Regions from separate parts of the Homo sapiens genome. Here regions 1, 2, 3, 4, 5 and 6 are each linked to region 7. The links are contacts of gene promoters, found by promoter capture Hi-C in blood cells and fetal thymus (Javierre and others, 2016). All regions are on one chromosome and are shown on one strand. Each heading gives the region's core, a stretch centred on a gene start or on the middle of the fragment in contact. The rest is flanking DNA. Distances are from core to core; before and after follow the strand shown. Region 1 overlaps MTSS1 (MTSS I-BAR domain containing 1). Region 2 overlaps MTSS1 (MTSS I-BAR domain containing 1). Region 3 overlaps MTSS1 (MTSS I-BAR domain containing 1). Region 4 overlaps MTSS1 (MTSS I-BAR domain containing 1). Region 5 holds the start of MTSS1 (MTSS I-BAR domain containing 1). Region 6 overlaps MTSS1 (MTSS I-BAR domain containing 1). Region 7 holds the start of SQLE (squalene epoxidase).

Evidence for each region. Contacts are between HindIII fragments. The CHiCAGO score rates a contact against its expected background, and 5 or more counts as called.
Region 1: a contact is called between a fragment that was not itself captured here and the fragment with the promoter of SQLE in region 7, in 7 of 17 cell types (fetal thymus, erythroblasts, megakaryocytes and 4 more). The highest score is 9.3, in fetal thymus.
Region 2: a contact is called between a fragment that was not itself captured here and the fragment with the promoter of SQLE in region 7, in 8 of 17 cell types (megakaryocytes, erythroblasts, M2 macrophages and 5 more). The highest score is 12.1, in megakaryocytes.
Region 3: a fragment that was not itself captured here is called in contact with the fragment with the promoter of SQLE in region 7 in 4 of 17 cell types (megakaryocytes, erythroblasts, naive B cells and 1 more); the score reaches 13.0 in megakaryocytes.
Region 4: a fragment that was not itself captured here is called in contact with the fragment with the promoter of SQLE in region 7 in 2 of 17 cell types (megakaryocytes and erythroblasts); the score reaches 8.4 in megakaryocytes.
Region 5: a contact is called between the fragment with the promoter of MTSS1 here and the fragment with the promoter of SQLE in region 7, in 6 of 17 cell types (erythroblasts, megakaryocytes, naive B cells and 3 more). The highest score is 12.7, in erythroblasts.
Region 6: a fragment that was not itself captured here is called in contact with the fragment with the promoter of SQLE in region 7 in 6 of 17 cell types (erythroblasts, naive B cells, total B cells and 3 more); the score reaches 8.7 in erythroblasts.

Annotation. Positions count from the first base shown.
Region 1 is chr8:124,642,590-124,645,695 of GRCh38, forward strand. The region is part of intron 3 of MTSS1 (MTSS I-BAR domain containing 1); the gene reads right to left. Among named protein-coding and RNA genes, the nearest start is that of MTSS1, 84 kb to the right of the region's middle. The HindIII fragment of the contact is 3,316 bases long and covers 1-2,997 here.
Region 2 is chr8:124,660,206-124,663,337 of GRCh38, forward strand. The region is part of intron 3 of MTSS1 (MTSS I-BAR domain containing 1); the gene reads right to left. Among named protein-coding and RNA genes, the nearest start is that of MTSS1, 67 kb to the right of the region's middle. The HindIII fragment of the contact is 1,769 bases long and covers 491-2,259 here.
Region 3 is chr8:124,703,201-124,706,087 of GRCh38, forward strand. It overlaps MTSS1 (MTSS I-BAR domain containing 1), which reads right to left. Exons shown (of 14, transcript NM_014751.6): 2 at 930-991. Among named protein-coding and RNA genes, the nearest start is that of MTSS1, 24 kb to the right of the region's middle. The HindIII fragment of the contact is 4,968 bases long and covers 1-2,887 here.
Region 4 is chr8:124,680,508-124,683,359 of GRCh38, forward strand. All of the region lies in intron 3 of MTSS1 (MTSS I-BAR domain containing 1), which reads right to left. Among named protein-coding and RNA genes, the nearest start is that of MTSS1, 47 kb to the right of the region's middle. The HindIII fragment of the contact is 4,754 bases long and covers 1-2,852 here.
Region 5 is chr8:124,727,138-124,730,118 of GRCh38, forward strand. MTSS1 (MTSS I-BAR domain containing 1) reads right to left here and starts at 1,336. Exons shown (of 14, transcript NM_014751.6): 1 at 747-1,336. The coding sequence starts at 818. LOC105375741 (a long non-coding RNA gene) reads left to right here and starts at 1,402. Exons shown (of 3, transcript XR_002956670.2): 1 at 1,402-2,929. The HindIII fragment of the contact is 14,334 bases long and covers 1-2,981 here.
Region 6 is chr8:124,621,869-124,624,923 of GRCh38, forward strand. The region is part of intron 3 of MTSS1 (MTSS I-BAR domain containing 1); the gene reads right to left. Among named protein-coding and RNA genes, the nearest start is that of NDUFB9, 84 kb to the left of the region's middle. The HindIII fragment of the contact is 7,610 bases long and covers 1-3,055 here.
Region 7 is chr8:124,996,853-124,999,754 of GRCh38, forward strand. It overlaps SQLE (squalene epoxidase), which reads left to right and starts at 1,653. Exons shown (of 11, transcript NM_003129.4): 1 at 1,653-2,842. The coding sequence starts at 2,552. It overlaps SQLE-DT (SQLE divergent transcript), which reads right to left and starts at 1,346. Exons shown (of 2, transcript NR_134457.1): 1 at 1,111-1,346; 2 at 136-308. RefSeq lists enhancers at 974-1,033, 1,964-2,013 and a silencer at 1,254-1,753. The HindIII fragment of the contact is 7,996 bases long and covers 1-2,902 here.

The sequences.
Region 1 (3,106 bases), core at 90-2,589, 350 kb before region 7:
TTTTCTTTTTTCTTTTTTTTGGAGATGAGTTTCACTCTTGTTGCCCAGTCTGCATTGCAATGGCATGATCTCGGCTCACTGCAACCTCTGCCTCCCGGGTTCAAGTGATTCTCAGGGCTCAGACTCTCAAGTAGCTGAGATTACAGGTGCATGCCACCACGCCTGGCTAATTTTTGTGTTTTTAGTAGAGACAGGGTTTAGTCATATTGGTCAGTCTGGTCTCGAACTCCTGACCTCAGGTGACGTGCCTGCCTCAGCCTCCCAAAGTGCTGGGATTACAGGCATGAGCCACTGCGCCCGGCTCTTCTGGGTTCTTAAGCACGGTGTTAAACCTCAGTTTTCTCATCTGTGAAACAGGAGCAATGAAACCTACTTGAGCCAGCCATTGTGAGAACTAACAATAACAGACTTAGCACATACAATAAGTTCTCAATCCATGGTAGCTGCTATTCTTCTTTTTCTCTGCATAATTAAGGGGGAAAACTGAGTATCTTTGATCAATAAAATTTGGCAGAGAGAAAAAAATTGGTAACCCCTAGTGTTAATAAGACTTCCAAAGAAGCATTTGGCAATACAACAGAAGCCTACAAATGCTTACGGCCCTCACTCGGCAATCCCACATGAGGACTCCATCCTAGGGAAATAAGATATGCAAAAAGATGCACAGGAATGCCTTCTGCAGCATCATTTAGAATACTGGAACTCTACAAGCAAAAGATAACCAACAGTGGGGGAAATGGCCAAATAAACAGTTGTGTGTTCATAGGAGTTGTTCCTGCAGCCACGGAAAAATGATTACAATATGATCATTTAAAAACAAAAATCTAGCCCGGCGCAGTGGCTCATGCCTGTAATCCCAGCACTTTGGGAGGCCGAGGCAGGCAGATCACCTGAGGTCAGGAGTTCGAAACCAGCCTGACCAACATGGAGAAACCCCATCTCTACCAAAAATAAAAAAATTAGCCAGGCGTGGTGGCACATACCTGTAATCCCAGCTACTCGGGAGGCTGCAGCAGGAGAATCGCTTGAACTGGGGAGGCAGAGGCTGTGGTGAGCCAAGATCGCACCATTGCACTCCACCCTGGGCAACAAGAGCGAAATTCCGTCTCAAAAAAAAAAAAAAAAAAAAAAAACCACGAAAATCTGTACTCAAAACTTTGGGATTTCATGTTATAAATATATTTAAAATAGTATGTACCCATTGTGTCTATAAATATTAGGAGAAAAGTACAACAAAATACTACATTAGGTATTTCCAAATGGCAAAATTACAGGTAACTTTTATATGTTGTCAGAGAATTGTTTGTATTTTTGAAATTCTGTGCAAGTAATTTATTTAAAGTCAGGAAAAAGTTATTAAAAAGTTTGTGGGTGTGGGTATGTGTCTGTGATGGAGAGGGACAAAGCACACTAAAGAGAAGCCAACTGGAAGCACGCCATTAATTGCTGATGCTTGAGTACAGAAAGAAGAGAAAGAATAGGATTCCCTTTAGGCCCACGGTTTGAGTTACATTAAGCCTGTGGTCATTTCCTTTAAGACCTGGGAACATGGGCATTGCTCATTTTCATGTACTATTATTTGTGCCAAAAGAAAAAAAAGAAAGCCTCCCAAACCTCAAACCACATTGAAATGCATGAGCAGCACATAATTCTGTAGCATTTTGGTTTCCTTGGCAACCTTATCTCTGTCTTCTTTGATCTCAACCACAGATGAAAAAGTCTTGGTTCTCCAAAGTCCCTGAGATCAATTGCCAGCTAGACAGTAGCAGAACATGGTAGAATGCTCATTCTCTAAGAAAGAATTTCTAATTAATGAGTTTCTTCACACCAAGCTCATTCCACAATGGATTTTAGAGAACAGATTCTTGATGCATTTACCATTTGAGTTCTGAGCTGTCTGATTTTCATATTACCACAATTTAATTTTAGCATCACGTAAACATAATTAATCTTTTCACCAAGTGAATGAAACAAGGAAATTACATTTAAGCCTCCAATTTTGCTAAATAGTACTGGTGTCTAAATATTTACCTGCTCTCTCCACTTCAGGTCCCTTGAGCAGGACGTGGTGGGGTTTCCAGGCCTAAATCTAACCTGCAAATGTCAAACTGGAAAACACTGCTACAGAGGCTGTGAGCAAAGCCCTGAGGTCTGAATACTATTGGCAGAATGTTATGAAGAAATCAGGAGATAATTCCAAATGGACATGGAGAAACCTAAGTCATCCGATTATGATTCAGTATAAGAGGGCTTAAAACATTTTATGGAATTTGTGTCCACCCCTTAAGTCATTTTTCTAAGAAAATGTCTAGCTGGATAAACTGAATGAAATTAGGTATGTCATACACAGATTCATTGAGCCATAAACGTTTACTGGGGGCCTACTATATATGTGGCATTGATAGGTCTTGAGGCCCAAATGTAGAGAAGGACATTTCTGTTCAAACACCTGAACCAGAGACCCTCTCAAAATAGTGCATCAAAAATGCATTTTTCAGCCAGGTGCAGTGGCTCACACCTATAATCCCAGCACTTTGGGAGGCTGAGGTGAGAGGATCACTTGAGGCCAAGAGGTTGAGACTAGCCCGGAAAACATGGAGAGACCCTAGTCTCTACAAAAAACAAAAACAAAAACGAAAAAACGAAAAACAATTAGCCAGCATGGTGGCGTGCACCTGTAGTCCTAGTAGCTACTCGGGAGGCTGAGGCGGGAGGACTGTTTGAGCCCAAGAGGTTGCAGTGAGCTATGATTGCGCTACTCATTCCAGCCTGGGCAACAGAGCAAGACCTTGTCACCAATTTTTAAAAGAAAATACAATTTTCAATGTGTAGAAGAAAATATAAGGCTCCAATGAATGTTGGGTGGCTAGTCCCATCTTCACGATCCCTATCAATGGCAAAAATCTTAGGATAAACTCAAATTATTCTTCCCACGAGAATCCAAAGGACGCTGATTTGAGAACAGCTATGCGGATATGTTTCCGCTGGGGTATCACAAGCTTAAAGCACACCAGTTTACCAAGCTTTTCTCTTTTTTCTGTTCTTTGAACTACTGTCCCCAAATCTCATTTTCTCGGTTGACGCTCAGCATGATTTTCAATTTTAA
Region 2 (3,132 bases), core at 125-2,624, 340 kb before region 7:
TAGGAGATGAAAAAGCATTCGGCAGCCCAGAGTTAGGAATCAGAAAAGCACAAACAACCGTTTGAGTGATCTGGAATAGGCTGTGCCACAGAAACAGGGGCCCTTCGAAAGAAGCAGCACTTTAACCAAAAGAAAGTAAACAAGGGAGGGTGGGGGCAAGGAACGAATGGCACTAGTTTATAATTAGAATGTATATTTTGGTATTTAGAAAGTTGCCCATGCGCATGCACACACACACACACACACACACACACACACACACACACACCCTCAAGCTGAAGGGTGGAGGCAAGATCAAGGGGATAAATCAACAAGGCTTCCCACACAACAGCACAGATCACTAACCCACGCCTCCAACAGAAGAGGAAGTTCCTTGTTTAGAGCATTAACCCTCCCTCCCACTTGCTGGGGCTGAGATGCCTCCCACTACACACCAAATATGAGGCTCTGGCTTAGTGGAGGAATCAGAGCAGCCACAATATTTCTACGAAGCTTGTTCTAAATGCACATGATATCAGTGTTCTAAAATTCTGAATGTGGTACAGCTTTCATGCTAGTGCAGTATGGAAATGCCCCTCAACTCTCCCATGCCTCTCTTCCTCCTGGGTGCCCTGTGATACTCTGGTTCTCCTCTATACTAAGCAGCCTGGTCCAGTGTCTTCCCACAAGAGCAAAGGATGAGGGACTTGTGCCCCAAGGTCCGAGTGGAACACACATACACACCCTCCCACGCACACGTACACACACGCACAATTTGGTTCACACTGTATCCTCTGACAGTAGTCACCTCTTGGCCCTGAGGCCATCGTCAATCAACAGAGAAAATGGAACATTCAGTGAAAAGTAAAACCAGACCCAGCCACCAATAAGATGCCAGAGGGCAGTGGGATGAGTGTGATCATTAAAAAGTTTATCATTCAGAACCTTCATCCTTGGAGGAAAGGGTTTCAGTAACAACAGCTCACCAACACATGTAGGTTTTAAGAAATAATATTTATCGTCTTTTTCCAAAATGAAAGGATAACCTGAAAAGTAAAAACCTTAGGAAAATGGTCCCCATACACGCACTACCCAGAAACAACACCAATGTTAGACGTGTCCCTTTATTTTCTTCTAGGTTTTTTTTTTTTCTGTAAACTGATGAATTTTTACTAACAATTCATGCCTGCACAACCTGATTATTACAGGATCTAGACAAAGAGCAAGTTCATGAACCATGTTTTTCTGATGAAAACATGATCAAAGCACTAGCTCTTAGAAACAGAAGCTACGATTGTCTCAGGTGAACACAAAAGGAGCCCCGCAGCTGGGAAGATACGTGTGACCATCAGCTTGAAAACTGGACAGGCCACAGGGTCAGGTAGTGGAGTCCTAGCCACGCCAAAGGTGCAGACACTGCTGGGAGAGGCACGAAGCAGAGCCTCCTCAGCCCAGGTGAGGGGTGGTAAGGCTTCCTTCCTGGTCAGCCACCCGCTACAAACACCACCCCTCAAAGGCCGGGGCTAGGGAGGAACCTGGGAAGTCCAATCAGCACTGTCCCATAAAGGATTCCCCTCTTTCCCACAACTCACCATAGCTGCGACAGCCTGTTCACAGTTTGCTCAGCATACATTCAGGACCTGTCACACTGTACGGCCCACATCTGTCTGCATTTCTGACTCCCCTTAGACTATGATATTTGTAAAGTATGAGGGCCATGCTCCATTCATCTTCACGTCCTTTGTGTCTAGCAGATAGGAGAGGCTCAAGATGGCTCTCACCCATCCATGAACACCAAGGAAGTAGCCAGCTTCAGGTTCTTTTTAGATTAAAGAGAAAGGGAAATGATCCAGCCCAGTCTTGTCCCAAGCTCAGCTCTTTAGCCTGAAAGTTAATGGGAAAGGCAGGGGTGGCATGTTAGATCTATTGATCGCATGTGCTACAACGTTCCAGGGGCCCCTGCTTGGTGAGCTATGTTCAATTTTTGGGAAAGAGGACAACGTCAACGCTATAATTCCGGGTGCCTACCTCACACCACTCAGGAAGACCATAATCCAATGACAACTGAGAATGAATAGAAGCTGCCTATCTGGTTTCTTGGCATCCAACACAATTAGGGCCCCTCCGCCAGGGCTCTAGGAGCACCAAGAACAGTGATACGAATGTATTCCAGGGCCCGGCACATAGTAGATGTTCAATAAATACTTCTGAATAAAAAAAATACTGTATGCCATACACAGCACAGGACACCAAGAGAGGCCTCAGTCTCTGCCACCAGGAAGCTTTTCCATCTAACACAGTGGTTCTCTGTCTAGGGTGTCCATCACAATTACCTGGAGAGCCTTTCCCCAATACTCAGGATCCGGGCTCTGCCCCAGGCCTCCTGACGCACCCTCTGAAGACAGGGTCTAGACATACGTACTGTCAAACAGCTACCCAAGTGATTCTGAGGTAAACTCCCACATTGAAGAGCCCCTGCTCTAGAGAGTAAACGAAAGCTATTATTTATTATATTTGTAAATATTGGGGGAGGGGGTGGGAGAATAAGGCAGTAATGCTTTTTTATTTGTAAGTACCAAGACTTCCCTCCCTGCCCTCCCACGGGTTAAATTTTAAAGTCCTCCAAAATTCTTGGGAGGAAACAGACCAGGTACAATTGTCGTGGTATCCAAGGGGACCGTGTAATGTACCCTTGCAGTCAGATAAAGCTCACGGAAATCAAGGGCAACTACCTAATGATCCAAGGGACCGAGACGTGACCACGAGCCTTTCCTGATTGTTTTCTCCAGGTAACCAAGGGGCAGCTGCTCTCCTTTAGCCAGGTGAGAACACTGGATATCAGTATCTGGGCCCCACTCCCCACCCAACGCTGAAACCTCCCTCAGGGATGCTATGCCAACAGCTGCCTGGCTGGGTTCTGGAGCCGAAATGGGCAACTTGTACTTAGCCTGCACTCAGACACCTGCACACGTGTCTCTAGGAAAAGAGGGAGTGCCAGCAGCATGGCCAGACACTCCCTTTCGGGCTGTAAGTTTTTCCTGAGGCTGCCTGCTAAACCTCATGCTAAGACAGACAGACAGACAGACTGACAGACACACACGTCCACAGCCTTGGAGCCCCTTTGCTCAAGGAGGCTTCCCATAGACACCTTGG
Region 3 (2,887 bases), core at 137-2,636, 290 kb before region 7:
TGATCAACATCTCTCTAAAGATATGCTTTTGCTAGATAGTTCATGTAAATGGAATTATACAATAGTCAACACAAGGTTTTATTTTATTTTATTATTATTATTTTCTTTTGAGGTGGACTCTTGCTCTTGTCGCCCAGGCTAGAGTGCAATGGCACAATCTCGGCTCACTGCAACCTCTACCTCCTGTATTCAAGCGATTCTCCTGTCTCAGCCTCCCAAGTAGCTGGGATTACAGGCACTCGTCACCATGCCCAGCTAATTTTTGTATTTTTAGTAGAGATGGGATTTCGCCATGTTGGCCAGACTGGTCTTGAACTCCTGACCTTGTGATCTGCCTGCCTGGGCCTCCCAAAGTACTGGGATTACAGGTGTGAGCCACCACACCCAGCCAACAGGAGGTTTTAAACTCTATTTGTGGAGAGGCAGTAAGCAGAATGGAGGAGAACATGGACTCTGGAGCCAGAGAGCCTAAGTTCAAATCCTTGCTCTGCCATTTAGTAGTGATGTGACTATGGATAAGTTATTTAACTTCGCTGTGCCTCAGTTTCCTCATCAGTAAAATGGGGATAATAATGGTATGTACCTTGTGGGGTTATGAGATTTAAACAAGTTAACAAATGCCTGGCACATAGTGAGCAATACATAAATGTTACCCGTTGCTACCTTACATACAGTACCTACCTCATTTGACTCTCAAAATTCCTATGGAAGGAGGAAAGCAGACATGAATGAGTCCCATTTTACATATGGCAATCAGGGCCCAGGATATATGGCTATAGGTGATCATGCTCCAATCAGAACCCAGCACAGGCTTCCCTATCTGCAGCACTTCCTGAATCAACCCTAATCAATCTGCATTTTGGTCTGTCCCACTCCATCCTTGTCTGAGGATGTTGTCCTTTTCCTGTAGAACATGTGCTTCTACTTACCGAAGCTGGGACTGCAGCTTTCCTGCTTTGTTTATGAAATCTTCCCAAACTGGATAGCTCCCCTGCAACACATCAAAGACATCAGTAAGTCACACTGCGATAGACATCTGATTACTACATTAACAGAGCACCCAATTCCAATCATGCAGGGAACAATCTGTGTATGTTCTCTTCCTTTGCAGGTCTGCAATACGTTTCCCGGATTCTATATACATGTATTGGCTCAGGAATCAGTTTAGAATGTGCTCAGTTCCTATAATCTTGTAAATACTACAAACATCAACTGAACTAGTTTGGCAGAATCTGACACATACACTTTTGAGTTGGTAGATGGTGGGTCCAAATTTAAGGTGTACAGAACATTTAAAGCTCCACCCTGAACCACTTGTTCATGAAACATGGCCCTGGCTGTTCTCCCACTTGCCCCAAACAACACCAAGCAGGGAACCAGAGTGACTGGGGCTCTTCCCCAGGACAGGTGGTTACAGAAAGCATTAATTAGACTATCAGAATCTCAAGATTGAAAAATTACCTAATGCAGCAGCTCAGCTGATGGCTTAAGCCCAACACCTAGGGACAGTATAGCAACAGGTGGTTCCCCAACACACTTCGGCTAACAGGGAACTCATCACCTTCCCAGCCTATTATCAGCCACCCTGTCCTTGATGTTCATGTAGTTCTAGTTCTAACCTCTGGGAGCCCTCAGTTAAGATCAATAATCCTGCTTCCACATGGAAGTCTTTTCAAAATCCAGTTTCACATCCAACCCCACTTCTCCCCGGGACCCTGCTTCACACCCTGACTGCATCCCAGAGACACTCAGCGTGTCTCTCTACTCTTCCTCTAAGTGTGGTGCATAGACACAAACTCAAATCTGCAGGTGCAAGTCTGACAGGGCAAAGCAGGCAGGGACCGACGTCTCCCTTCCTACACATGTTAAATTTATATTAAGATCACACAGCCCACCAACCAAGAGGTGACTCAAAATCAACACAGAAAGGGGGAAACAATGGGCTGAGAAGTGGTATTTGGCATTGATCATTTAAGTACAGAACTAAGGGCCGGGCGCCATGGCTCACAGCTGTAATTCCAGCACTTTGGGAGGCCAAGGTGGGCAGACATCTTGAGGCCAGGAGATCGAGATCAGCCTGGCCAACGTGGTGAATCCCCATCTCTACTAAAAATACAAAAATTAGCCAGGCATGGTGGCGCATGCTTGTAGTCCCAGCTACTCAGGAGGCTGAGGCATGAGAATCACTTGAGCCTGGGAGATGGAGGTTACGGTGAGCTGAGATCGCACCACTGCACTCCAGACTGGGCAACAGAGCAACACTCCGTCTCAAAAAATAAAATAATATAAAATAAAATAAAACAAAACAAAACTAAGACTAAACACCTGGGGATTATTTTTGCAGAACAGAGCGTAAATGTTATGAACCCTGACAAGGTAAAAACAACATATGCTACCTCTTGATTTTCTTGTTCAGGAAAGGAGGAAAAAATTATAATGAGGTTAATCAACTCATCTTTCATGACAGAAGCCCAATTAAAACTGTCTAAAACTGCAACCCAGCTAAAACATTAACAGTTTTACCTTCCTAATGGTATTAAACATCATTTTTTCTTACCCTTAGAGCAGGTTCTCAGCCTCAACACTATGGACATTTGAGGCCAGATAATTCTTTGTCGTGGGGGGCTGTCCTGCACATTTAAGATGTTTAGCAGTATCGCTATCTTCCATTCACTAGATGCCAGCGTTCCCCCACCCCCTATTTGGGACAACCAAAAATGGGACATTGCCAGATGGCCCCTAGGGGACAAAAATCACGCCCAGTCAAGAACCACTGCCTTAAAGGCACATCTGAGAAATCAACTTAAAGAAAGTGGTGAAGAAACAATTACAGTATTACTTCAGTTTCATTTTCTTCTGTTAAATGAAAGTACAATTAAGTATATTT
Region 4 (2,852 bases), core at 21-2,520, 320 kb before region 7:
GGATTATAGGAAAAAACAAAGGTTGTCTATGTGCCACAAGGAGGGGCTTCAGGTTCCCGTCTCTAACATAACATTTCTACAGCACTAATAGCATATCATGTACCTGCTATACCAATAGTATAGTATTAAATACTTCCATGATAGTTATGTCTTGCAAACAGCACCCAGGTGGTCTTGACTACCAATGGACTCTAAATAGAGAAACTTAACAACCTATTACATGTGTCAGAGAACATTCACTGTTGCCAAGTAGTGTTTCTATAGGTACGAATGAAGGACACTCCTCTTAGGCAAAACAGGTAAGGCTTTGAGGAGCTGTCACATCTACCCAGCTGCTTTGAGGTCATTGCTTCTCTGCATTTTATGTTACCCCAGTCTCTACTCCTAGGGGAGGATGGTTCGGCAAGGTCACCAAGACCCTCCTGGCCAGAGTGGGGATTTCTTTAGACCGCAGGAGAGGAGCTCCTTAACCACCTTTAAGCAAGTTAATAATCTGTTCAGGGCCACCTGAGGATTAAGTGGTATAGCCCAGAGTAGAGAGGGTCCCCCAGCATGAAAGAGACTCCAATGTCCTAGTGTCAGATGCAAAAAGGAAAATTACAGAGCTCAGCTTCCTCCTAAGTGAAAAGCTGAACTTTTAAAACCTTAGACAAATGTGTCTATGGAGTCAAAAACAACACAGAGAAGCTGTGACATTTAAAAAAAAAAAAAAAAAGCAAATGATGAACTCAAGTAACAAATCTTCCACTCAGCATCCCAGCGGCAGAGAGAAATGCCAACCTCAGGACTCCTACATGTGTTTTATGCTGAAGGAGCTATTTCAAGCAGCAAAGGTTCTGCTTCTATGCCATTCCCAGTTTCTGTTTTGTTTTGTTTTGAGGTATGTCTTTTTAAATATCCACGATAAAAATGTAACCATCCCAAATATATTTCAATGATAGAAATACATGACCACTGTTTAGTTTAAATCAACAGTATCTCTCTCAAAACTGCCTCCTGGCTGGGCGCAGTGGCTCATGCCTGTAATCCCAGCACTTTGGGAGGCCAAGGCGGGTGCATAACTTGAGGTCAGGAGTTCAAGACCAGCCTGGCCAACATGGTGAAACCCCATCTCTACCAAAAATACAAAAATTAGCCGGGTGTGGTGGCAGGTGCCTGTAATCTCAGCTACTCAGGAGGCTGAGGCAGGAGAATTGCTTGAACCTGGGAGGCAGAGGTTGCAGTGAGCCGAGATCATGCCATTGCACTCCAGCCTCAGTGACAAGAGCAAAAAAAATGCCGTCTCAACAAAATAAAACAAAACAAAACTGCTTTCTATAAAGATTACTATAATTGATAGGAAGCCCAGAGCATAGTGCCTGACACATTTGTATGTGCTAATAAATACTAGCTTTCCTGATTCATATAAGCTAACGATTGAAGGCTACTATGAACCAGGCACTGAAAGCTCTTTATACACCTTCTCAAAGACTCCACACACAGCCTACAAAGGTGCTGTTATCACATCCAATTTACAGATGAGAAAACAGGTACACAGAGGTTAAGGCAACTTCCCAAAAGTCACACTGCAAAAAAGAGTGCAGGCTGGGATTCAACTCAAATCAAAGGTTCTTAAACAGCAGCCATGCACTTTCTTAACTCTAACAACAGGGTAGCCCTCACGCCAGAATAATTTACCATCTTTTCCATTTTACGCTAAAGCCATTTTGGGGGTTGTCTTTAAGTGAAGTCAGAGCAGGGGTGGGGACACTAGTCATCAACTTGTGCCCACCCCCATCTTCGGCAGCCTCCCCCAGGCTGTGCTCGGCCCTATTTGCTAAATAGCAGGTCCCTGGAGGTTGCACAACCATCAGCAGCAAAGTAGCTGGAATCCAAAACTAACACGGCTATCCCTTCAACGCTTCCTCTTCACCTCGGGCAAATAATCCATCAGTGCACAAGGCCACAGGTGTGAGGGGCGGCACAGAGACAGGAGAGAGGCCCCATTCCAGGAGAGTAAGCCTTTGGATCTGAGCCTCACGGAACAGGCAGGCTCTAGCCTACAGCCTCCATTCCTGCAGGGTAAGAATACAGTAGACAGGAGGCTAAAGTGGCCGGTTTGGCTCTCGTGATGCAGAAGGAAGCCTGGAGTCAGCAAGGGGAGACCAGGCTGCTGAATGGGCCAGTGGCTAACTGCAAGGCCAGCTCAGGGCAGCTAACTGAAACAGCAGCTCCTACTTCAACGAAGGGGAACTGGGTGGGGAGGGAAATGACCCAGTGTAGACATTGTCCTTACAGCACACACAAAAAGCACATGCCTACATATGACAATGATGGAATATGGCATTTCAAGCCAAATTTATACTAAACATCAAAGAAAACCAGGGCTTTTCTGAAACCAAAACACATTTCTAACCACTTTCTTGAAGAAAACAAAAATGGCTGGGATCTGAACCAGGCATAACCATTTTGTCTTGCTTTTTGAAAGCTGACAAATGGTCATCCCAGCCCTTCCTTCCCCAGTCTATGACCTTTTCAGACCATCTTGGTTCCTCTCCTGATGTTTCCTAAAGTAGTGAAATGACAGTACATTCAACTATCTGGCCCCATTTTATTTCCATGTGATTTAAACCTGATGTTTAATGTGACAGCACTTCCATTTAAAGTAAGCAAAAAAAAAAGAAAAAAAGTTTCTTATACACAAATGTTTTAACGTTTAATGTGTAATGTTTAACATGTGGTTAAAAAGGAAGCAGCCCACAATTTTAAAAAAATGAAATTTAAAAAATGGAAGAAAAACAATGACCCCAAAATCCTCATTCAAGGAATTGTGAACAGAAACAAAGTCTTACAATAGCCTGCAGTACACTATC
Region 5 (2,981 bases), core at 86-2,585, 270 kb before region 7:
ACCCTTCCAAGAGAAAACCTAGAGTGTGTGTCCGTTTGGGTCTGGGAGGGCAGGATACAGTTATTTCGGGGGCCCCAATCTTGCCTTTAGGCTCAGCTGGGAGAAGGCGGGGCCCCTGCAAGGCTGCCCGGGAACTTCGGCCCCGCGCCCCGCGGGAGGGCTAAGAGAGGGCACGCACACCTTTACCAGCTTCGGAACGGCCCAATTAATAACTAATTTGCTCAGATACCCCACTCCAAGTAGACCTGACAGCCAAGGAGGGACTGGCTTTCCCTCTCAGTCTCCTAGGCTAGGGGACTCCTTCCTGCGAGCGGGCAGAGCCCCCACTTCCTCCCCACCACCGCGCCAGGCGCCCCCACCCCGTGCCCGGAGGAATCAGGTGTCCTCCCGGGCATCCAGCCCCCGCGGGTCCCAGACACTTACTTCAGGGACAGACAATGGGAAAACTTGCAGCCAGTGCCTTGAGCCCCCGAGGGAAAGAAATGGTGCCGCCCCCTGGGACAATGAGCGGGGGAGATGGCGTGGGACAGCAGACACCCCCCAGAGAAGCCACCCGCCCAGTGACCCCGCAGAGCCCGGAGCAGCGCCCCGGGTGAGCAGGTGACACTCCGGCCGGGAGCTCCCGCAGGTGGCCGGTGGCCACACTGCAGGGAAGGGCCGGGTGCCCGGCCCGGGGTGGAGGCGAAGCGCGGCGGCGAGGTCAGAGCGCGGCGGCCGGCGCCGCAGCCGCACCCCCGGCGTCCTACCTTCATGTCGCTGATGATGGTCTGGAAGAGGCCTCCGAGCGCGCTGCATTCCTTCTCAATCACAGCCTCCATTTTCCCGGCTCCGGCAGGGCGAGGGCACACACGCGGGGCCGCTGGACTGCGCGCGGGGCCGGGGCTCGCTCACCCCAGAAGGAATTTCACCTTCCGAGAGACCCACCTCGGACTCGCAGCCTCTTCTGCAGCGAGGACGGGGTGCACCAGACCGACTGTTCTCTGCCCAAAATAATAACAGTAATTTAAAAAGCCAAACCGCTCTGTAGGGTATTCGCCTACAAGCAGCGCTCGGCTCCTGGCCTTAAAAATGCCGGGAGAAGACTGACAATCAGGCCACCACTGGTGCCCACTACGGAAACGGCAAAGCCCATCTTGATGCAGAGAAAATCGCCCGCTGACCCGGGGCCAGCGCCATTGAAAAACGCAAGATTTTCCAATTTAATAAATTTTTCTGCAATTAAAAAAAAATCGCCCAACAGCAGAGCGGGTCAGCTCGCGGCGTCCGGATCTGTTGCTCGCAGCTGCGGCCGCCGCCTCCTTTTCACTCCTGCGCGCCCGGCCCCGGCGCTCGCTCTGGCTGGGCTCCCGGGGACGTTCGGAGGGGCGCACGCGCGCTCGCGGCCGTGCCCGCCAAGCGGAGGCGCGCTCTCGCGGCCGTGCGGCCGCCGCACGCGGGCGGGGCTGGGAGCGCGCGCCCGAGAGGCGCGTGGGGCACCCGCCGCAAAGAGGAGCCTGCTGGTCTGCTGGCGGGCAGGCGGCGCTGGGCCGGAGCCTCTCCCTCCGGTGCGCACAGCGCACCCTCTCCTCCCCCGGCCGCCCGTCGCAGCGCGGAGAGGGCGTGTCGGCACCCTGCCTGGCGAGCGCCCACCCCTACAATGGCTGCGAGCGCGCGGGACGGAGGGTGCACCGCCGCTCCCCGGGGACTTGCACGGGTGGCGCGCCTAGCCCAGAGCCCGCTTGTAGTGAGCGCTCAGTAGGGCGGGAAAGCTGCTGCCGCTACTGCGGCCTTCTGAGAAGACGCCCATTCTCTGATGTCAGGACTGCATCGCCGAGTCCTGATTGCAAATAGCGAAATATATAATTAAGGAGAGTTCGGGGGCGTATCCTGCAATGGGATGCCGAGTTCGATAAAGTTGCAGGATGCTGGGAAAGTGGATTGATTTGCTGTTGCTAAATGAATGGAAACAGCGTTAGAGCTTCTGTCCACGATCCATCAGTCTATCGAGATTGCTGATTGCCTATGACTTGGACGGTTGATGGTTTTCAGGCCCACTGAGAGCAGCCAGCGTTGGTATAACCGCAGGGAGCCCTCCTGGGAGGTTGAACCTGCAGAGCGCAAATGTGCCCAGGTTGATTTGGGGCCTAGTGGTCCATTTTCACAGCTCCACTGCCTATCTGCATAACCAGGAGCCCTCATTCAGATGAACGCCAAATGGGCCAGAGGGAGGAGAATCAAATGAGCAACTTTTAAAAGATATTAAGACATAGGCACCTAACTCCGGACAGTTCCTTTAACCCTTGAGCTAACCATTTGAAGCACAAAACATAACAAAAGAAAAGACTGGGGGGAGTGGGGCCAAAAGAAACCAAGTGCAAAATTCTGTACACTTGTGTCAGATTCACTCCGTAATGGGAAAAGGTCTGGCTTTGAAAACTTTATGGATCAAAGGGATGCATGGAGTTACACAGCACAGCTGCAGAAGATAATGTTCCCCTGGATCACTCTGCCCAACTCTTAACTGCAACCCACCTTCCCCATCCGTCTCCCCGAAATCACCCGGAAGGGTGTTACCTTCAGGAAGTAACTGATCTCTTGATCACCCCTGCTGGATCCTGTCCCCAAGGGCGTTCGAATGCATCCGACTCATCTTCACCTTGCCAATAACGGGTGCTTGACACATCGTTTGCTGCCAATCATTATTGTGATTTTAATACTATTGGTATTCTAACTATCAAGATGACTGCTTGTAGAGCCAGATTGCCTGGATTCAAACTCCAGTTCACAACCTACTAACTGTATGCCTTTAGGTATGTTACTTAACCTTTCTGGGCCTCAGTTTCCTCATCCATCTGTAAATGGGGATAATGATGGCTTCTACCTGATAGGGCTGTTCTGAACATTACATGAGCTGATCGATGAAAGCACTTCAAGTGGTACCTGGCATCTCGTAAGTAATCATTCGATAAATCTTATCAACAGAAGAAGCAGGGATGAGGCCA
Region 6 (3,055 bases), core at 168-2,667, 380 kb before region 7:
AATCCTTACTAACCCTTAGAGAGTCAGAAAGATTCAACCAGAAAGTGGGTTCTGGGCACTTGAACCATCCGTTTCAGGTTTGGGTTTGGTTTACTTTCTCTCAGTGATGCACCAGCACGAGGTGGCTTCACTCTCTCAGTTAAGAACCTCCCTGATGAATGAGTAAGGAAAGTGTGAGAGACAGAAAGAGAAAGAGAGAGAGAGAGAGAGAGAGAGAGAGAGAGAGAGAATATGAATATATTTTTCAGCCTTAAAAAAGACAGAGATCCTGCCTTCTGCCACAATTCGGATGAACCTGGAGGACGTTATGCTAAGTGAAAGAAACCAGACACAGAAAGACAAACACTGCATGACCTTGCTTGTATGTGATCTTACTTATAGGTGGAATATATTTTTTTAAGTAGAAGACATAGAAAATAAAACAGTGGTTACCAAGGAGCAGGGGTGGGGGAGGTGAAGGAGGAAACGGGAGATGTAGGTGAAAGGACGCAGAGAGGCAGATATGCAAGATGCATCGCCCAGAGACCTAATGTGCATGAGGACTCCTAGTCAACAACATTGAATTATACCGGGGATTTCTGCTAAGACAGTAGATTTTAGGAGCTCTTGCCATATTGAAAAAAAAAAAAAAAAAAAAGGTAAATGACTGGGTGCAGTGGCTCATTCCCATAATCCCAGCACTCTTGGAGGCCAAGGCAGGCGGATCACTTGAGGTCAGGAGTTCGAGACCAGCCTGGCCACCATGGTGAAACCCTGTCTCTACTAAAACCACAACAATTAGCTGGTCTTGGTGGCATACTCTTGTAATCCATTACTCGGGAGGCTGAGGCAGGAGAATCGCTTGAGCCCGGGTGGTGGAGGTTACAATGAGCTGAGATCACACCACCGCACTCTAGCCTGGGCGGCAGAGCAGGGAGTCCATCTCAAAAAAAAAAAAAAAAGTAATTATGAGAAATGATAGATATGTTAACTTGCTTGACTATAGTAACCATTTCACTAAGTGTATCAAAACTTCATGTTGTACACCTTAAATATACACACAAACACACAAAAGACAATCTTCCCTGACCCGGAAAGTAGGGAGATGGGGCCCAAGGCAAAGTCAGAGCACAGACGAGCCCATCCCTGTGTAACAGTAAGAACGATCCAGCCTGCTTGCCTTTCTCACACCTTCCAGGAGGGCAGGTCACTGCGATGAGAGGAAGCACTCAAGTGGTTCCTAATCCAAAGAACTGTCTTGACTGAAGGATTCCAATAAGAAGTCTCCCACAAGCCTTGACTGGCTGTTTCAGAGTATGGTTACCCTACTGAAAATTGTTTAACTTCAACCCTATTTCTTGTCTTCTGAACTCACACACGTTTATCCTTCTTACGAAGACTACACACAACTAAACTGCATGTATCTGTGCTCATATGTCTATAGTGAACCTGTCATATGTCCTCAGACATTTTTTCCAGTAAGGTATTGATCAACCACCTTTGTGAGCAGCAACAGGAAAGGCAAAAATTATTGGAAAATGTGGTTAGGCTCAATTTTGTGAATGCCACATTTTCTTTTACCAAACATAACCAAATCCAACACCTAAAAGAGTTAGATGCCCTGGCCCTTCCCCCAAACAACTCATCTGTCCAATAAACACTTGCTGGCTTCACAAATTGGCCCAAAAGAGAGAAATGCATAAAATTAACTGTCCAATTTAAGCATTTGGCCTAAAAAAACCAAAGAGCACCTGAAACACTGAAGGATCTTCTGTGTTTTTTTGTTTGTTTGTTTGTTTGTTTTGAGACAGGGTCTTGCTCTGTCACCCAGGCTGGAGTGAGTGTGCAGTGGCGTGATCTCAGCTTACTGCAACCTCTGCCTCCTGGGTTCAAGCGATTCTCCTGCCTCAGCCTCCTGGGTACCCGGGACTACAGGCCCACACCACCACACCCGACTAATTTTTGTATTTTTAGTAGAGACCGGGTTTCACTATGTTGGCCAGCCAGGCTGGTCTCAAACTCCTGACCTCCGGTGATCCGCCTACCTTGGCCTCCCAAAGCGCTAGGATTACAGGCGGAAGCCACCTTGCGGGGCCCGCGCTAAGCACCTTCTAAAACTCACTGCCATCTTGCCTTTCTCTGGGAAAGTAAGGAAACTGCCTCCTTTCTTGTCAGCTCATCGAAGCTATCAACCATTGCTTCGTGTGGGTGAACTGATATGTGCTGTTACACCAGCTTAAAACAAAGGAGAGAGGCTTACTTTCAACCCCCATTTCACTCACGCTCCTATTTGAAAAGGTTTGTCACTGTGCGAAGACTCATATAGGACAGAAGAAGAAGACAGCCCCCGTCCTCAATGAGTGGACCATAGTCTGGAGGAGAAAGCAGCAAGCCCACAATTTATTATTTTTGCACTATCAGAGAGCTCTAAGCCAAATGGCTCCGCGTTCAGACAGCAAGAGTGCACCCGCTTTCTGAGCAGGGAAGGGACGTTTTCAGAAGATCCTCAGCCCAGGTTGTAAAAAGAGAAACTGGGAGGCATGGACCAGACATTCAGAGAACTGGTGAGCAAAAGCAGCCTAGACTCAGGTTGACGACGTGACACAGAAAAAGAAAAGAAAGGGATGGGTACAGGGGAATCACAGGGGCAGTGTCTATTCAGCCTGGCAGCTCCAGAGTAATGACAGAGGCAGGGCTAAGGATCCCAGGGCAGTCTGACACTTGAAGCCCAGGTACCTCCACCTGGGAGTCCCACCAACAAATAATAGGGAAATCAGGAGAAGGCAGTTTGGTTTGGCTGAGTCTCAGGTGCCAGGGGGAAGGCCAAATATCCCTGCACCATGCCAGCCACGTTGATGGCGCTGAAATAAATGTCTGTTCAGATGAATGGAGACCAACCACCAGACGGCTGGAAATGCGAAACTGAAGCTGACTCAAAGAGGTGGATTTGCGCAGAGCGGGGAGGTGTGGGCACAGGAATGAATGAGGTCTGCACACAAAGCTGTTTGCTACCCTCCACATTAAAATGGCAGATGTCTGGCAAATGCCTGGAAATTTCCTGACACCCATTGTCCTT
Region 7 (2,902 bases), core at 403-2,902:
TTGACTTTTGGTTTCATCATTACGATTTAATCACAGCTGTGATTTAGTCAAGCCATTTAACCTCTTTAATTTTCATTTTCCTCATTTTAAAAATCAAAGTTGTTTTGAGGGTCAAGTGAACGCCTGTGCGGGTGTTTTACCAAATAATTATTTTATTAGCAGATAAAACATAATATTGGGGGTGAAAAGTTATAAGAGGTGCCATGTTTTTTTAAACCCTGCCAAGTATCTGATACAGAATTGCAAAGGATGTTCGAGTTCATGAAGAAGTTGCCTTCTCCCCACAGAGGCAGAGTGACTTGTAACATCTGTAAAAGGTCACAGTCTGGTTAGCGGTAGCCAGAATCTGGGTCTCCTAACTCTAGTTGCCTAGTCTTGCTTTTATGCGCCAGTGTCGTTCATCATTCATTAAATACATGTTATGGAGGATAAATTAAGGGCAGAGCATTGTGCTAGGTGCTGTGGGTGATCTTATCAGACACAGATCTTTAGGGAATCTAGAGATTAAAAAGTATGAATAAAGTTATGTGACTTGGTGAAGGTCAATGGCGATTTGGTGGAAGAGGTGACAATGCAGCCACGCTCCAAAAGGCAGAAGGGATTTGCACCTATTATCATAGGGGTTAAAGAAGGAAGTCCAGAGTTAAGAAACAGGATGAGCAAAGACACTGAGGTCTTAAGCCTCAATAAATTTTAGGTAAGTTTCATCGTAGTAGAATAAGGGCTGTCTCACTCCGAGACTTTTGCACACTTTTGCTCCCTCGGACTGCTTGTCCTGGACACCGTGTAACCTCCCCCTGGGCGCCTCACCAGACTTCTCCAGGCCAAGGGAAGGACCACCTCTTGGGTTTCCATGGCTCCCTCTCTAACCACCCCCTTCTCAGGACACCTATGACACGACTATTTGACTTCTTTGCCTCCGAGCCCCCACCCCCAACGTTTCTGGTCTTGAGAGAACGGGCTGGGCGCATCCGTGTATCTCTAGCCTGAGCACCTGGAGCGTCCTCTCCTTTTCTTCTTAAGGCAAAAGCCTACTCATTCTTCCAGCTTCAGCTGGAATGTCAGGCTCTCCACGCACTCATGGCCCTCCCTTCCGCCCTCTCCACATACACAGGGCAGGGAAGCTGTGTCTGATTCCTCTTTCGGACTCCGGGGACTGACATATCATAAGCGCTCAATAAATGCTAGCGGAATGAATGGAAACGTTCCGACCCGAGGCAGCGGATCACTCCAGGCTTCTCCTCAAAGCGAGCACACCTCAGTCCAGGGAGGGCGCAGGAGCTGGGGCTGCTGCGGTGAACCAACCCCAACCCCGACCCCGACGCCGATCCCGGCCCCAGAGCGCCTCCTAGGCGACCCCTGGCCCCACCCACGCCGGAGCCGGCCCGCGCCCATCCCCACGCCCCAACCCGCACCACGCAACATCGCCCTAGCGCCTTTCGGGGCGTCGCCGCGCAGGTTGCGCCGCCTCCGATTGGCCAAACGCGGCATAGCGCCATCTCGGCCTACCGCGCGGTGCGCGCCCTCATTGGCCGGCGGCGGCAGGAGCAGGGGTAGGGGGCGGGGCAGCACGCGGGGCGCGCGGTATGGGCGGACTCGCGCCTGAGCCCCGCCCCCGGTCCCTCGTCTGGGCCGAGCCCGCCCAGCTGGCTGAGACGCGTGGAGCCTGGCGGCGAGTGGGGGCGTGCGACGGTTACTCTGGTTACTGGGGCCGCGCCGCGCTGGCGAGAGCCGCCGCCCGCGAGGGATGCTGGTGAGGAAGCCGTCGGGAGCCGCCGCCGCCATCTGAGGGAGGTACCCTGGAAACCACCTTTTATCGGTGGGGAAGTGCAGTCGCGGTGGGCGGCTCTGGGGGCCAGCGAAACGGGAGGCCTCTAAATCTTTAGGTTGGGGCTGCATTGCCCTGGAGCCGCACTCTTGAGTCCGAGGCCATCTTTTGTTGGAGAAGGCGTCGGCGTTGGCGTTTTCCCGAGGTTGGGCTGTACAGTGTCTCCGTCCGCGGAAAAAGAAGCCTCTGAACCCGCGCCGGCCCGCAGCCCCCGTGCCTTCCGGCCGCTGCTCGCCGTCGCCAGAGGCTAGGCCACGTTTCCCCCAGTGCCGAGGTGTTTCTGTGACCCTCCCTCCACTCCCATTCCCTTCTGAAAGGGCACCTGCTCTTGGTGAGAAAAGAAATTATAGCACGAAGAGCCAGTATCAGAAGAGTATCCATCACCCGCAGCAACCGCTCAGGGAACACCATCAAAAAAGAAAAAAAGGGAATATCTGGATTTCCTGGGCGAGGAGGAGCGAGTCTGCTCGGGAGCTGTTCCAGCAGGCGATTTTTAAATACTGCTTTCTACGCCCTATACAACTTGGCTTCACATACTTTTACACTAACTTTATATGATTTTTAAAAACTGGTCTGATCGGACTTCTCGTCCTGGGACACTGTTTACTGGAGTCTGGCCGGCTCTCCGTGCTCCTCTTGGTACCTCATTTTGGGGAGAACCTTAAACCCACTCGAGCAGATAATCTCCGCCTTGACCGGTGCCACCAAAGAAGCCTTGGAACCATGTGGACTTTTCTGGGCATTGCCACTTTCACCTATTTTTATAAGAAGTTCGGGGACTTCATCACTTTGGCCAACAGGGAGGTCCTGTTGTGCGTGCTGGTGTTCCTCTCGCTGGGCCTGGTGCTCTCCTACCGCTGTCGCCACCGAAACGGGGGTCTCCTCGGGCGCCAGCAGAGCGGCTCCCAGTTCGCCCTCTTCTCGGATATTCTCTCAGGCCTGCCTTTCATTGGCTTCTTCTGGGCCAAATCCCCCCCTGAATCAGAAAATAAGGAGCAGCTCGAGGCCAGGAGGGTAGGTTGATTTCAAAGCGGGCAGATGAATGTCTTATTTAGGAGTAGGATTGGGTTCACT